Linked DNA regions of Homo sapiens: all the other regions are linked to region 2. Evidence: promoter capture Hi-C in 16 types of primary human blood cells and fetal thymus (Javierre and others, 2016). All regions are on one chromosome and are shown on one strand. The core of a region is centred on a gene start or on the middle of the fragment in contact, and the rest is flanking DNA. Distances in the headings are between cores, read along the strand shown.

Evidence for each region. Contacts are between HindIII fragments. The CHiCAGO score rates a contact against its expected background, and 5 or more counts as called.
Region 1: a fragment that was not itself captured here is called in contact with the fragment with the promoter of SPATA46 in region 2 in 1 of 17 cell types (M1 macrophages); the score reaches 9.3 in M1 macrophages.
Region 3: a contact is called between a fragment that was not itself captured here and the fragment with the promoter of SPATA46 in region 2, in 1 of 17 cell types (M1 macrophages). The highest score is 5.0, in M1 macrophages.

What each region holds. Positions count from the first base shown.
Region 1 is chr1:162,149,000-162,153,372 of GRCh38, reverse strand. All of the region lies in intron 1 of NOS1AP (nitric oxide synthase 1 adaptor protein), which reads right to left. All of the region lies in intron 3 of LOC105371475 (a long non-coding RNA gene), which reads left to right. Among named protein-coding and RNA genes, the nearest start is that of MIR4654, 5.9 kb to the left of the region's middle. RefSeq lists an enhancer at 963-1,463. The HindIII fragment of the contact is 8,322 bases long and covers 1-4,373 here.
Region 2 is chr1:162,374,400-162,378,433 of GRCh38, reverse strand. SPATA46 (spermatogenesis associated 46) reads left to right here and starts at 1,580. Exons shown (of 3, transcript NM_182581.4): 1 at 1,580-1,746; 2 at 3,031-3,144; 3 at 3,818-4,034. The coding sequence starts at 1,644. The HindIII fragment of the contact is 3,530 bases long and covers 1-1,796 here.
Region 3 is chr1:162,510,310-162,514,550 of GRCh38, reverse strand. It overlaps UHMK1 (U2AF homology motif kinase 1), which reads right to left. Exons shown (of 8, transcript NM_175866.5): 5 at 1,975-2,051; 6 at 1,728-1,826. Among named protein-coding and RNA genes, the nearest start is that of UHMK1, 15 kb to the right of the region's middle. The HindIII fragment of the contact is 5,815 bases long and covers 1-4,241 here.

The DNA of each region.
Region 1 (4,373 bases), core at 1,324-3,823, 230 kb after region 2:
GAGACCACTTGAGGTCAGGAGTTCGAGACCAGCCTGGCCAACATGATGAAACCTCATCTCTATTAAAAACACAAAAATTAGCTGGGTGTGGTGGCACATGCCTGTAATTCCAGCTACTCGGGAGGCTGAGGCATGAGAATTGCTTGAACCCAGGAGGCGGAGGTTGCACTGAGCTGAGATCGTGCCATGGCACTCTAGCCCAGGTGATGGACTGAGGCTCTGTTTCAAAAAGTAAAAATTAAAAAGGTATAATCTCTAGATATCATTGCTTATAAGAATGAAACAAGAAAATAGGACCACCCAACACTGATTCATTGATTAAGCATCTATGACATGAGCGCCTTCATATACACCATCCCATTACACACTGATTCATTGGGACTTGCCTTTCCTTATTATACATAAATTACATAAAACAGCCCAAGGGATATACTAGAAATTAAGAGCCCAGACTAACTTAAAAGTCTACCCAAGCAAAGATTCCATTAAGAGTGAAGATAAGACTGCGACATCTGTGCGGGAAAGGGATGTCCTGTAGTTACGGGAAAAGCAAGTTTTTCCCGAAATTTGGAGCTGAGGCCTGACCCCAGTGAGGAGGGTTTCAAAAACTAAATACCACAAAGGGATTTCCCCTAGTATTGATCAACAGTTTGTGCTAATACACTGAAGAACACAGCTGGCAAGCAGTGAGCACATTGCAGTTTGGCCCCAAGGGGACAGCCCCACCACGGCCCATGGGGAGCAACACAGCTATTGAAGAACCTTGCAGCTTGCTGAGGTAAACAAAACCACTTAGATCTGATAGCGTGGCCAGATTTAACTGTGGTTACATTTTTCCTTCTGAGCTCTGCTGAGGCGGTACAGTCTGTCAACAAGACAGCGACCCAGAGCTAGGGATGACGTAAGGCCCAGATTCGTGATTGCCCAACTTCACAGGCCCTCCAGCTGGGGGCAGTTTCCATGCCCCCTCTCCTTGACACTGCACAGCTGATGGCTCCTGCCCTGAATGCTGTGCAGTCAGGAACACACAGGCCTTGAGGGGCTCATGTTCCCTCAGCCATCACATGAGAGCTAGGGCCACAGGACCGAGAAAGGTCACCCATCACAGGGAGCCTGGGGGACTGTATAGTCCTCCCACTGGATCCCTGCAGACCAGGAAAGGGGCTGCTGCCCAGTGAGACCCACCATTGGGCCTAAACACAAATACCCAGATGGGACCCATCCCTATCCTGCTACCATGACCCTGGCCCATTTCTACCTCTTCTGGAAGAGGCACTGCTGGACTGAGAAAGCCAAAGGAAACATAGGATGCAGGGAGGACAGGTGGAGAGAAGAGGCAGCTTCGAGTTTTGGACAAGGCTTCCTAACAAGGGGCTCACATTAAGACATCTACCATCTTCACCCCACAAGTAACTCCTTCACTACATCAGCCACTACCCCAGCTGGTATGTGTGCATACATGTACCACACACCTTCACACACAGTCATGGTGCGCATGTACATGTACATGCACACCCCACATGCCACACACTTGCCTCACCCCACACCCCTACTAACACATCACACTCACACCACACACTCACTTGCTCTTCTTCCTTCCTTCCTTCTCATTCATGCAAAGAAAATCACTAATCTAAATACCTAGAAATTAGCTTAACCAAAGAAGTGAAAGATCTCTACAATAAAAACTACAAAACATTAATGAAAGAAATTGAAGAGGACACAAAATAATGGAAAGATAACCCATGTTCATGGATTGGAAGAATCACTATTGTTAAAGTGTCTGTACTATACAATCCCTATCAAAATACCAATGACATCCTCCACAAAAATAGAAAAAACAATCCTAAAATTTATATGGAGCCATAAAAGACCCAGAATAGCTAAAGTTATCCTGAGCAAAAAGAAAACAGCTGAAGGAATCACATTACCTGACTTCAAATTAGGCTATAGAACAAAACATGTAACCAGGTACATGCTACAGAACATGCACATGTACATGCTACAGAACATGTAACCAAAACAGCATGGTACTGGCATAAAAACAGACACATAGACCAATGGAACAGAATGGGGAACCCGGAAACAAATCCATACATCTACTGTGAATTCATTTTTAACAAAGATGCCAAGAACATATATTGGGGAAAGAATAGTCTCTTCAATAAATGGTGCTGGGAAAACTGGATATCCATATGTAGAAGAATAAAACTGGACTCCTATCTCTCACCATATACAAAAATCAAAACAAAATGAACTAAAGACTTAAAACTAAGACCTCACACTATGAAACTGTTAAAAGAAAATGTTGGGGAAACTCTCCAGGACATTGGACCGGGCAAAGATTTCTTGAGTAATACCCCATGAGCACAGGCAACCAAAGCAAAAATAGACAAATGGGATCACATCAAGTTGAAAAAGTTTCTGCACAGCAAAGGAAACAATCAACAAAGTGAAGAGACAATCCACAGGATGGGAGAAAAAATCTGCAAACTTCCTATCTGACAAGGGATTAATAACCAGAATATATAAGAAGCCCAAACAACTCTGTAGGAAAAAAATCTAATAATCTGATTTAAATATGGGTGAAAGATCTGACTAGACATTTCTCAAAAGAAAACACACAAATGGGAAACAGGTACATAAAAAGGTGCTCAACATCATTATCAGAGAAATGCAAATCAAAACTACAATGAGATATCTTTCACCCCAGTTAAAATGACTTTTATCCAAAAGACAGGCAATAATAAATGCTGGCAAGGATGTGGAGAAAAAAGAACCCTCGTATACTATCAATGGGAATGTAAATTAGTACAACCACTATGGAGAACAGTTTGGAGGTTCCTCAAAAAACTAAAACTAGAACTACAACATGATCCAACAATCCCATTGCTAGGATACCCAAAAGAAAGGAAATCAGTATATTGGTGAGATATCTGCACTCCCAGATTATTGCAGCACTATTCACAATAGCCAAGATTTAGAAGCAGCCTAAGTGTCCCTCAAAAGACAAATGGATAAAGAAAATGCAGTAAAATGGAATACTATTCAGCCATGAAAAAGAATGAGATCCTGTCATTTGCAATAACACAGATAAAAATGGAGGTTAGTGAAATAAGCCAGGCACAGAAAGACAAACTTCACATGTTTTCACTTATTTGTGGGAGCTAAAAGTTAAAACAATTCAGCTCATGGAAAGAGAGAGTAGAACAATGGTTACCAGTAGGTGGGAAGGGTAGTTGCAGCAGGGAGGGAAGGATGGTTAATGAGTACAAAAATATAATTAGGTAAAATGAGTAAGATCTAGTATTTGATACCACAATAGGATGACTATAGTCAACAATAACTTATTGTACATTTAAAAATAACAGAAAGAATGTAATTGGATTATCTGTAACACAAAGAAAGGATATATGCTTAAGGTGATGGATACCCCATTTACCCTGATGTGACTATTATGCATTGCATGCCGGTATCAAAATATCTCATGTGCCCCCATAAACCTATACACCTATTATGTACCCACAAAAATTGAAAATAAATTTTTTAAAATAAAATAAATTACAAACAAGAATCACTAATCTGCCTTTTTGAGAATGTGTCTGGAATAAATAACCTGTTTTCGCTATAGCTGCACCTTAGGGTCATCCAGAGAGATTAAAACGATACACAAAGCAGGATTCAGGTCTGCATCTCCTAGACAAAAGCTAAACATCCACTCTAATAACATGAATCAAGAGCAGAACTACAGTGCCAGGGAAGCAAAGGGTCAGAAAGTCTACTGCACAGGGCAAAACCAGAGGGTGTGGTATGTGAATACTTTCTTTACACATATGACACCACAACAAAGAGTACCTTGATAACTAATCATTACCACCTCCACAACTAACTTCTGTCTGTCCCTGAGTCTTCATCTTGAGCAAAGTGTAAGACACCATCTAAGACCAGACATACTTGCTGGAGGGTGGCCCTTCTAACTGCTCAACTTCAAGCAATTCTGCAGTAAACTGAACTCAGGCAGACCCTCCCACTCTTGACTGGAAGGTTAGCTCAGCAGGTAGATGAAGTTCAGGCCTAGGAGCCAACAACCTTCAGATATCCAGGCTCTGTCAATTCCTACAGGGGTCAGGCAACACCAATTCCCTGCCTTCAGTCAAAGACTGATACACTGGTGGCAGTTGATCACTTTGAAACAGCACTCCTTTTATCTGCCTCTCCTGCAGGATGCAGGCTCCCACACGTTCCTAGGGCAATGGAGCTGGGTTGGCCTGATGCCTGGGAATTGGAGGAATATATTTCAAAATGGAAACTCATCCTTTTTCCCCTCCTTCTCCCATGTCATGTTCCTCCTCTAGCCTTCCTCATCCTGATTA
Region 2 (4,034 bases), core at 331-2,830:
TGAGCTTTCTCTACACCATAATGGACCAAATGAAATTGCTGATACCCCCCAAACTGCCAAAGTATGTGGCTTCAACTTACTTTCCAATACATGCTAATGTTCCAAACCAGGCTATCTGGGAGGAACACGAGGGGAATCATGTTCTCCCATTGTCCTTCGAATGTTTCAGTACCGTGAATAAATACACACAGGAAGACAACTCTGGGCTCTCACGTGCAGAAGCTAACTCACACCTCACTCACACATGCTCGACAGCACTGCAAAACAAGCCCATCACTATTTCCAGAGCGGCCATAGCTCCCCATGCAGCATAAACATACCTGCCATCTAGATCTGCAGCCCTGCTCTGTATCTAGTTGACATGTTGTGATAATCTAGAAAGGGGTGTCTTCAGCTTATCTTCCAAGTGTCACAATCATCTTTCACCTTATTCCACACCTCGTTAGTGCACAAGGTTGTTATAGGACAAGCGAAACGAAGAGGCAACCTTGCCTCTCTGGAGTCCCAGAGTCTCCCCATCAAACTGACTTAAGCAATGAGCAAAATAGTATTGAGTAAGCCACCCATTTGTGCTTTAGTCACTTGCTAAAAAGAGCACCAACCACTGAAAACAATATTTGGCCCCTATTCTTAGGAAATACACATTGAAGTACTTAGGTATAAAAGGACATAGTGTTTATAACTTACCTTCAAATAGTTCACAGAAAAAATTAAGTATATACACATACACATGGGGCAGGGGGCAGGAGGAAGGGGACGGATACAGCAAATGGGGTAAAATGTTAATAGGAAAATCTGGATACAGGGCATAAGGGTGTTCTTTGTATTGATTTTATTTTTTGCAGCTTTTAAGATGGAGTCTCGCTCTGTCACCCAGGCTGCAGTGCAGTGGCGCTATCTCAGCTCACTGCAGCCTCTGTCTCCCAGGTTCAAGCGACTCTCCTGCTTCAGCCTCCCAAGTAGCTGGGATTACAGGCACCCACCACCACGCATGGCTAAATTTTATATTTTGAATAGAGATGGGGTTTCACCATGTTTGTCTAGCTGGTCTTGAACTCCTGACCTCAAATGATCCACCCGCCTTGGCCTCCCAAAGTGCTGGGATTATAGGCCTGAGCCACTGCACCCAGCCTAATTTCTGCAACTTTTACAAATTTGAATTTCCAAAGAAAATGTGAAAAATATATACACCTCAAAAAACAAACTAAAACAAAACAATAAAAATATTTGCTGACAGAGATTAGGCTGATAAAGGAGAAGAAAAGGAAGGAGATTATTCAGACAGGACAGAGGTTTCCAGGGCTGGAGGGCTGGGGGTAGACAGTGTCAACACAGAAAACTGATGATAACAAAGATAAAAGGGGACAAATAGACAGCATCACTACAGTATCTCTACTACATTCTTCTCTCTGGGTATTGTCAATCAGGGCCTGCCACTGGGCAATGGCAAGTCAAATACAATCTTTACACATTTTAATCTTGCTTTCAGTAGACTCCATTCATCTTCCAAAGGGTAACCTAGTTGGTAGTGGAATCATGTGCCTTGTGACATCAACTGTGCTCAGAATGTTTATCCTCTGGACAAACCAGCCAGCCTCTCCAGAGCAGGCGTGTGATCTCTGTACCCCCGCAGTGGTCAGAATATGGAGAACTTCTCACTCCTCAGCATCTCTGGACCTCCAATCTCTTCCTCCGCCCTGAGTGCTTTTCCCGACATTATGTTCTCTCGTGCCACCAGCCTGCCAGGTAAACTTTGGTGCCACTAGGGCCACAAAGATGTGGTTTTTTTTGAAGCTTTTAATTGAGTACCCTACCAGATCATGTTACAGGACCATGATTTAGTGAGAAAGTCAAATTACGCATGGGGAGAAAATAATTTTTCAAAATGCTGCATTTGTGGTAAGTAGTTACTGCTGTGTATTGATTTTTGGTAAGGGAAGAAAGGGGAAAACTTTTTTTTTTTTTTTGAGACAGAGTTTCACTCCTGTCGCTCAGGCTGGAGTGCAATGATGTGATCTCGGCTCACTGCAACCTCTGCCTCCTGGGTTCAAGTGATTCTCCTGCCTCAGTCTCCATTTATCATCAAGTTTTTCCCCCTAGATTGTGCATGAAATCTCAAGGTGGCAGTATGTCTACATAGAGTAGAAACTAGTTTTAGCTCTGTTTTGACAAGTTTGGAGAGGATTTGGAGTTAGCCAAATCAGAGAAGCCTAAGCAGCAGCGTAAACTGATGAGCACATCATGGAATAAAGTTGGACACCCTGAGGACTCCCTGTTCAAAATACGGTCCTTAGACTTGCAACGTCTGCATCGTCTGGGAGCTTGTTAGAAATGCAGAATCTCAGGTTCCCACCCCAGATCCACTGAATCAGCATCTGTGTTATTAACAAGATCCCTAGGGGATCTCTATGCACAGTAAAATGGAGAAGTACTGCTCAGTGGAGTAGGCCTCCTAAGCATCCATTTGTCTACATATATGACATTTATAAATTTGTCCCCCAAACTGAACACAGCTGCTATTCTGGGATTTGAGGCAGGTCAGCTTTTTGTCCAAGTGTTAGCACTCCAGGGTGTGCCGTGCAGTGATGGCCCACGGGAACCCTGACTGTGGGTATGAGATGTTTCAACTGGACAATCCTCAAAGCGGGCATGGAACATTGCTCTGCAGCCTGTGACTCTGGGTCCCAGGATGCTCAGGAGACTGGCAATGCGGAGTGAAGCCATCCGCGTGATGAGATGCAGGAGGGTTAGGTGAGGGGCAGGCCAGGCGGAGAGGTGTCATCTGGGCTACATCATAAATCCCACTTTCCAGAGGATCTTTCTGAGGCCTGAATGAAATGGCCCCATTCAGAATTCCCCAGGATGTCATCCAGAATAGCTCTGCCTGGCTGAGTTTGAGAGGTCACTGTTCTGTTTCAGCGTTGAGATGCCTTGAAGTACAGAGGTTGAGCCCCTAGGTATGCCTGGGGGAGTCCCAGAAAGTGGAATCCCAACCTTGCTCAGCTCACCAGTGTTTCTTCTATAACCCAGACATTGCAAAGACAGCAGTACCCACTGAGGCATCCAGCCCAGCTCAGGCCCTGCCACCCCAGTACCAAAGCATCATTGTCAGGCAAGGGATACAGAACACAGCGCTCTCACCAGGTGAGGACTTCTCTGACTCTGGGCGGGAATGTGTGAGAGGCTAAGGATGAAAAGGGGCTGCTTCCCTAAGGAAGCAGAGGTGTCTGGAAGCTGGACCCCCATGCGCGGTCTTGTCACCTGCAGCCTCCTATCTGGCCCTTCTTCCTTTGGTAGACACCCACAGGCCTGGGGCTCTCGCCTTGCCTCCCCTCTCCTGTCTCTGAAACTGGTGTGCAAGAGCAGTTTCTGGCTGAGTGGGCCGTGGAGGGATCAAGATGAGCAGTGAGGCTGAAAAAAGGGTCACAGCCATGGGTGGCGAAAAGAGGGACTGTGGGAGGCCGCCGGTTTGGCTATCCGCTGGGTCACCTGTCTGTGTCTATCCTTAGAGGAGTCAGTGGACATGGTGTCTCCAGGAGGGGAAGGCCTCGACAAATACCAAGGCTTACCAACTAAAAGCAGCCTCTCCTGCCCCAAGATCCAACGGCCCTTTGTACCCCTAGAAAAAGAATGCAGTGAGAAGGAATGCCCTCGGCTGCTCTTACCACTGTCTTGCGTCTGCTCTCAGAACTGCAATCGTGGTGGGGTGGAGGTAACCGAGGTCATGCCTGATGTTTGCCTTCTTACCTTTCTGCTCCAGCATCCTTGGCTCCACTGCTCCCTGCCAGAGACTCAGACCTGGTCCTTTCCTTTGCAGACTGCAGCTTGGGGGATACCCAGCACGGAGAGAAGCTGAGGCGGAACTGCACTATCTACCGGCCCTGGTTCTCCCCCTACAGCTACTTCGTGTGTGCAGACAAAGAGAGCCAGCTGGAGGCCTATGACTTCCCAGAGGTGCAGCAGGATGAGGGCAAGTGGGACAACTGCCTTTCTGAGGACATGGCTGAGAACATCTGTTCGTCCTCTTCCTCCCC
Region 3 (4,241 bases), core at 1,045-3,544, 140 kb before region 2:
ATAAACAAAACAAACCAGATTGTATTCTAGTGGTTAATAATAGGTAATATTTGTTGAGTGTTTACTATTTGCCAGGCATGGTTCTAGGAAATGTTTATACATTATTTAATTTTCACAACAACTCTACAAGATAGGTACTATTTATTATCTCCATTTTATAGATGAGGAAACTATAGTTTCCTTCTTTTGCAAAAAACTGCAAAGAAGCTAGTAAGTGAGAGACATCATGTAAACTCAGTCTACCCTCTTTTTTTTTTTTTTCCAGAGATGGTCTCACTCTGTTGCCCAGGCTGGAGTGCAGTGGTGCAATCTCGGGTCACTGCAACCTCTGCCTCCTGGGTTCAAGTGATTATCCCACCTCAGCCTCCCGAGCAGCTGGGATTATAGGCATGTGCCACCACGTCCAGCTAATTTTTGTTAAGCCTACACTCTTAACCGCTACACAAAATTGTCTCTCTAGTACTAGTAACAATAGGTTGATGCAAATGCTTCACAACTGTTGTCCTTGGTCTAAGTTTGGCCCTGTTTTAGTCCACTCCCTCTCTGTTTCCAAAATGTCCCTACTAAAATACAGGTTTGACTATGTCATTCTCCAATTTAAAATTATTTAATAAACTCCTTACTGCATTCAACAAAGAACAGATAGGTATTGAATACTTAATCATAAACTAGATATTATTCTATACCTGACGCAAAGTTCTTCACATATCTGTATTTTGGTGTTACTATCTCTCGGATAAAATCCAAATTCTTAAACATAGCAAACTCGTCTGTACTCTGGCTACCTCGTTAGCTTTAACTGATTGCTCCCCAACAAATATCTTAAGATACAGTCATACCAATTTGCTGTTTTCTGACACTTTCATATCTATGTGTTTGTGCTACTTACTTCCTAACCCCTCAACTTTTAGTCAAGCAACTCCAAATTACTGAGCTCAGATATAACGTCTGTAGAGAAGCATTCACCAGTTACTAAGATTGGGTTAAGTACTTGTCCTTTCTGCCATTGTATAGTACCCTATCTTCAGATTATCACAACTATAATTGTTTATGTAGCCGTATCCCCTACTATACTAAAGACGGGAAGTAATCCCACAACAGCACATAGTAAATACTCAGTTAATATGTCTTAAATGAATGAATGTTAAAAGCAAAAAAGAGAGCTAAAATGGAGAAATGCAAGCATAGGGAAAGGCTAGAAGAGACAGACCAGAGAGATAGAAGTTGTTGGGAAAATTAATCTTCTTCATTAACTGGGTAAAGATGAAACGTAAAAGAGTCAAAAGGACATTATGAATTAAAAAGTGAGAGGGCTGGGCACAGTGGCTCACACCTGTAATCTCAGCACTTTGAGAGGCTGAGGTTGGTGGATCACCTGAGGACAGGAGTTCGAGACCAGCTGACCAATATGGTGAAACCCCGTCCCTACTAAAAATACAAAATTAGCCAGGTCTGGTGGCACATGCCTGTAATCTCAGCTACTTGGGGGGCTGAGGCTTGAACCCAGGAGGCAGAGGTTGCAGTGAGCTGAGATCGTGCCACTGCACTCCAGCCTGGGCAACAAGAGTGAAACTCCGCCTCAAAAAGATAAAAGTGAGAGTATATTAGAGATCATATTGTTCAATATTCTCATTAGATAAATTGAGAAATATGAAAATGTTACGGATATGTTTATTCTAGACTTATTTAAGAAAGACACATTAAAATATAATTTAGAAAACACTAACCTTCATATTCCTCTTCATTCTCAAGATAATCATCATCCAGCACATTCAGCAGTCTTAGCACTGGAGTGGGAAGCATGACCAGATCTTCAATATGAGGGGCTGTTAAAATTCATCATAATATGGTTAAATGTAAATCCCCCCAAATAAGTTGAACACCAGATAAAGGAACTTGTGAATATAAATTAGTGCTGATGTCTTGTATGACTGTCAAATGACCAAGAAAAAAATAAAAGAATACACAACTTACCAAAAGGAATGCTAAAGAATGGGCTGCACAATGCCATTTCAGCAGGAATTCTTCTGCTTGGATCATCATGAAGCATGCTAAAACACAAAAATAGGTGCCTTATCATTTCTGCTGAATCTTTTGAAAATGCAACCATTAAAGAAAGTAAGAATGTCTGAATGTTCATCACAGCATTAATTATATTAGCATGATTTATTGAATCATTCACTTATAAATACAAATGCTATTTATTAGTAAATGGTTTAGTAATTCATGATACATACCTATGACATTATACTGTGATTTAAAATAACACTTTTGATTAATAAATGAAACACTGCAAAGTGATCCACACTCTGTAACAGTGAGTGACAAAAAAGACACAGATTTAGGGTAACACAATTAAAAAAAAAAGATATCGGTGGGATGATTGTTGAATCTCATCAAATTTCTCTAATAATAAAGCAACTAGATAGCAAAACCAAAAACCCATGGACAATATCTATAACAAAAACCATAAGGACACCCTAAATAGCCAAAATAATCTTGAGAAAAAAGAACAAGGCTGGAAGCACTATACTACCTGACTTCAAAAAAGTTCTATGAAGCTACAGTAACCAAAACAGCATGGTATTGATATGAAAACAGACACACAGACTGATGAAACAGATCAGAGAGCCCAGGGAAAAAAAAATATTTACAACCAACTGATTTTCAACAAAGGTGCCAAGAAAACACAATGGGGAAAGGACAGTATTTTCAATAAACGGTGCTGGGAAAAACTGGATATTAACACGCCAAAGAATAAAATTAAACCCTTATCTCTGACCTACACAAAAATCAACTCAAAATGGATTAACAATTTAAATGTAAGACCCAAAACTACTAGAAGAAAACAAGAGAAAAGCTGCACAACATTGTTCTGAGCACTGAATTTTTGAATATAACTTCAACAGCACAAGCAACAAAAACAAAAACAGACAAATGGGATTATATCAAACTAAAATCCTTCTGCACAGCCAAGGAAACAATGAACAGGGTGAAGAGACAACTTACAGAATGGGAGAAAATATTTACCAACTATACATCTGCTAGGGGAGTAATATACAAGATATATAAGGAACTCAATTTGGCTGGGTGTGGTAGCTCACATCTGTAATCCCAGAACTTTGGGAGGCAGAGGTGGGAGGACTGCTTGAGCCCAGGAGTCCGAGACCAGCCTGGGCAACATGGCAAGATCCTCTCTCTACAAAAAAATTTAAAAATTAGCTGGTGTGGTGGCATGCATCTGTAGTTCCAGGATCACTTGACCCTATGAATTCAAGGCTGCAGTGAGCCATGTTTACACCACTGCACTACAACCTTGGCAACAGAACGAGACCCTGTCTCAAAAAAAAAAAAAAAAAAAGAAAAAGAAAAAAGAAAAAAAGAGCTCAAATAACTTTATAGCAAGGAAACAAATAGCCCAATTAAAAAATGGGCAAAAGACCTGAACAAACATTTCTCAAAAGAACACATAAAAATAGCCAACAGTATATGAGAAATGCTCAATATCGCTAATCAACAGGAAAATGAAAAACCAAAACCACAATGAGGTATCACCTCATACCTATTACAATAGCTATCATCAAACAGACAAAAGACATAAAGAAAAGGGAATCCGTACACATTGTTGGTGGGAATATAAATTAGTAAAGCCATTATGGAAAGTAGTATGGAGGCCCCTTAAAAAAAATTTTTAAAAAAGAACTACCAGCAATCCCACTACTGGGTATATATCCAAAGGAAATGAAATCAGTATGATGAAGAGATACCTGTAGGCCCACGTTTGTTGCAGCACTATTCACAATATACAAGATATGGAATCAACCTAAGTATCTATTAACAGATAAGTGTTCATTTCTTGCATGTTAGCTTAAAAAAAAAATTAAAAAACAGATGTGTAAAAAGTAAAAAAAAAACAAAAAACACAGATGAGTAAAAAAAGAAAATATGATATATATATACACAATGGAATACTATTCAGCCACTGAAAGGAGCAAATCCTGTCATTTTCAACACAGATGAACCTGTAGGGCATCATGTTAAGTGTTATAATAAGCCAGGTCCAGAAAGACAAATACAGCATGATCTCACTCATATGTGAATTCTAAAAAGTGTTGATGTCACAGAAGTAGAGAGAAGAATGGTGTTACCAGAGGCTGGGTGGGGGCGTTAGAGGAGAGAGGAGTTTGGGGAGACATTGGCCAAAGCCAAAAGATGCCTAATTACAGTTAGATAGAAAGAAT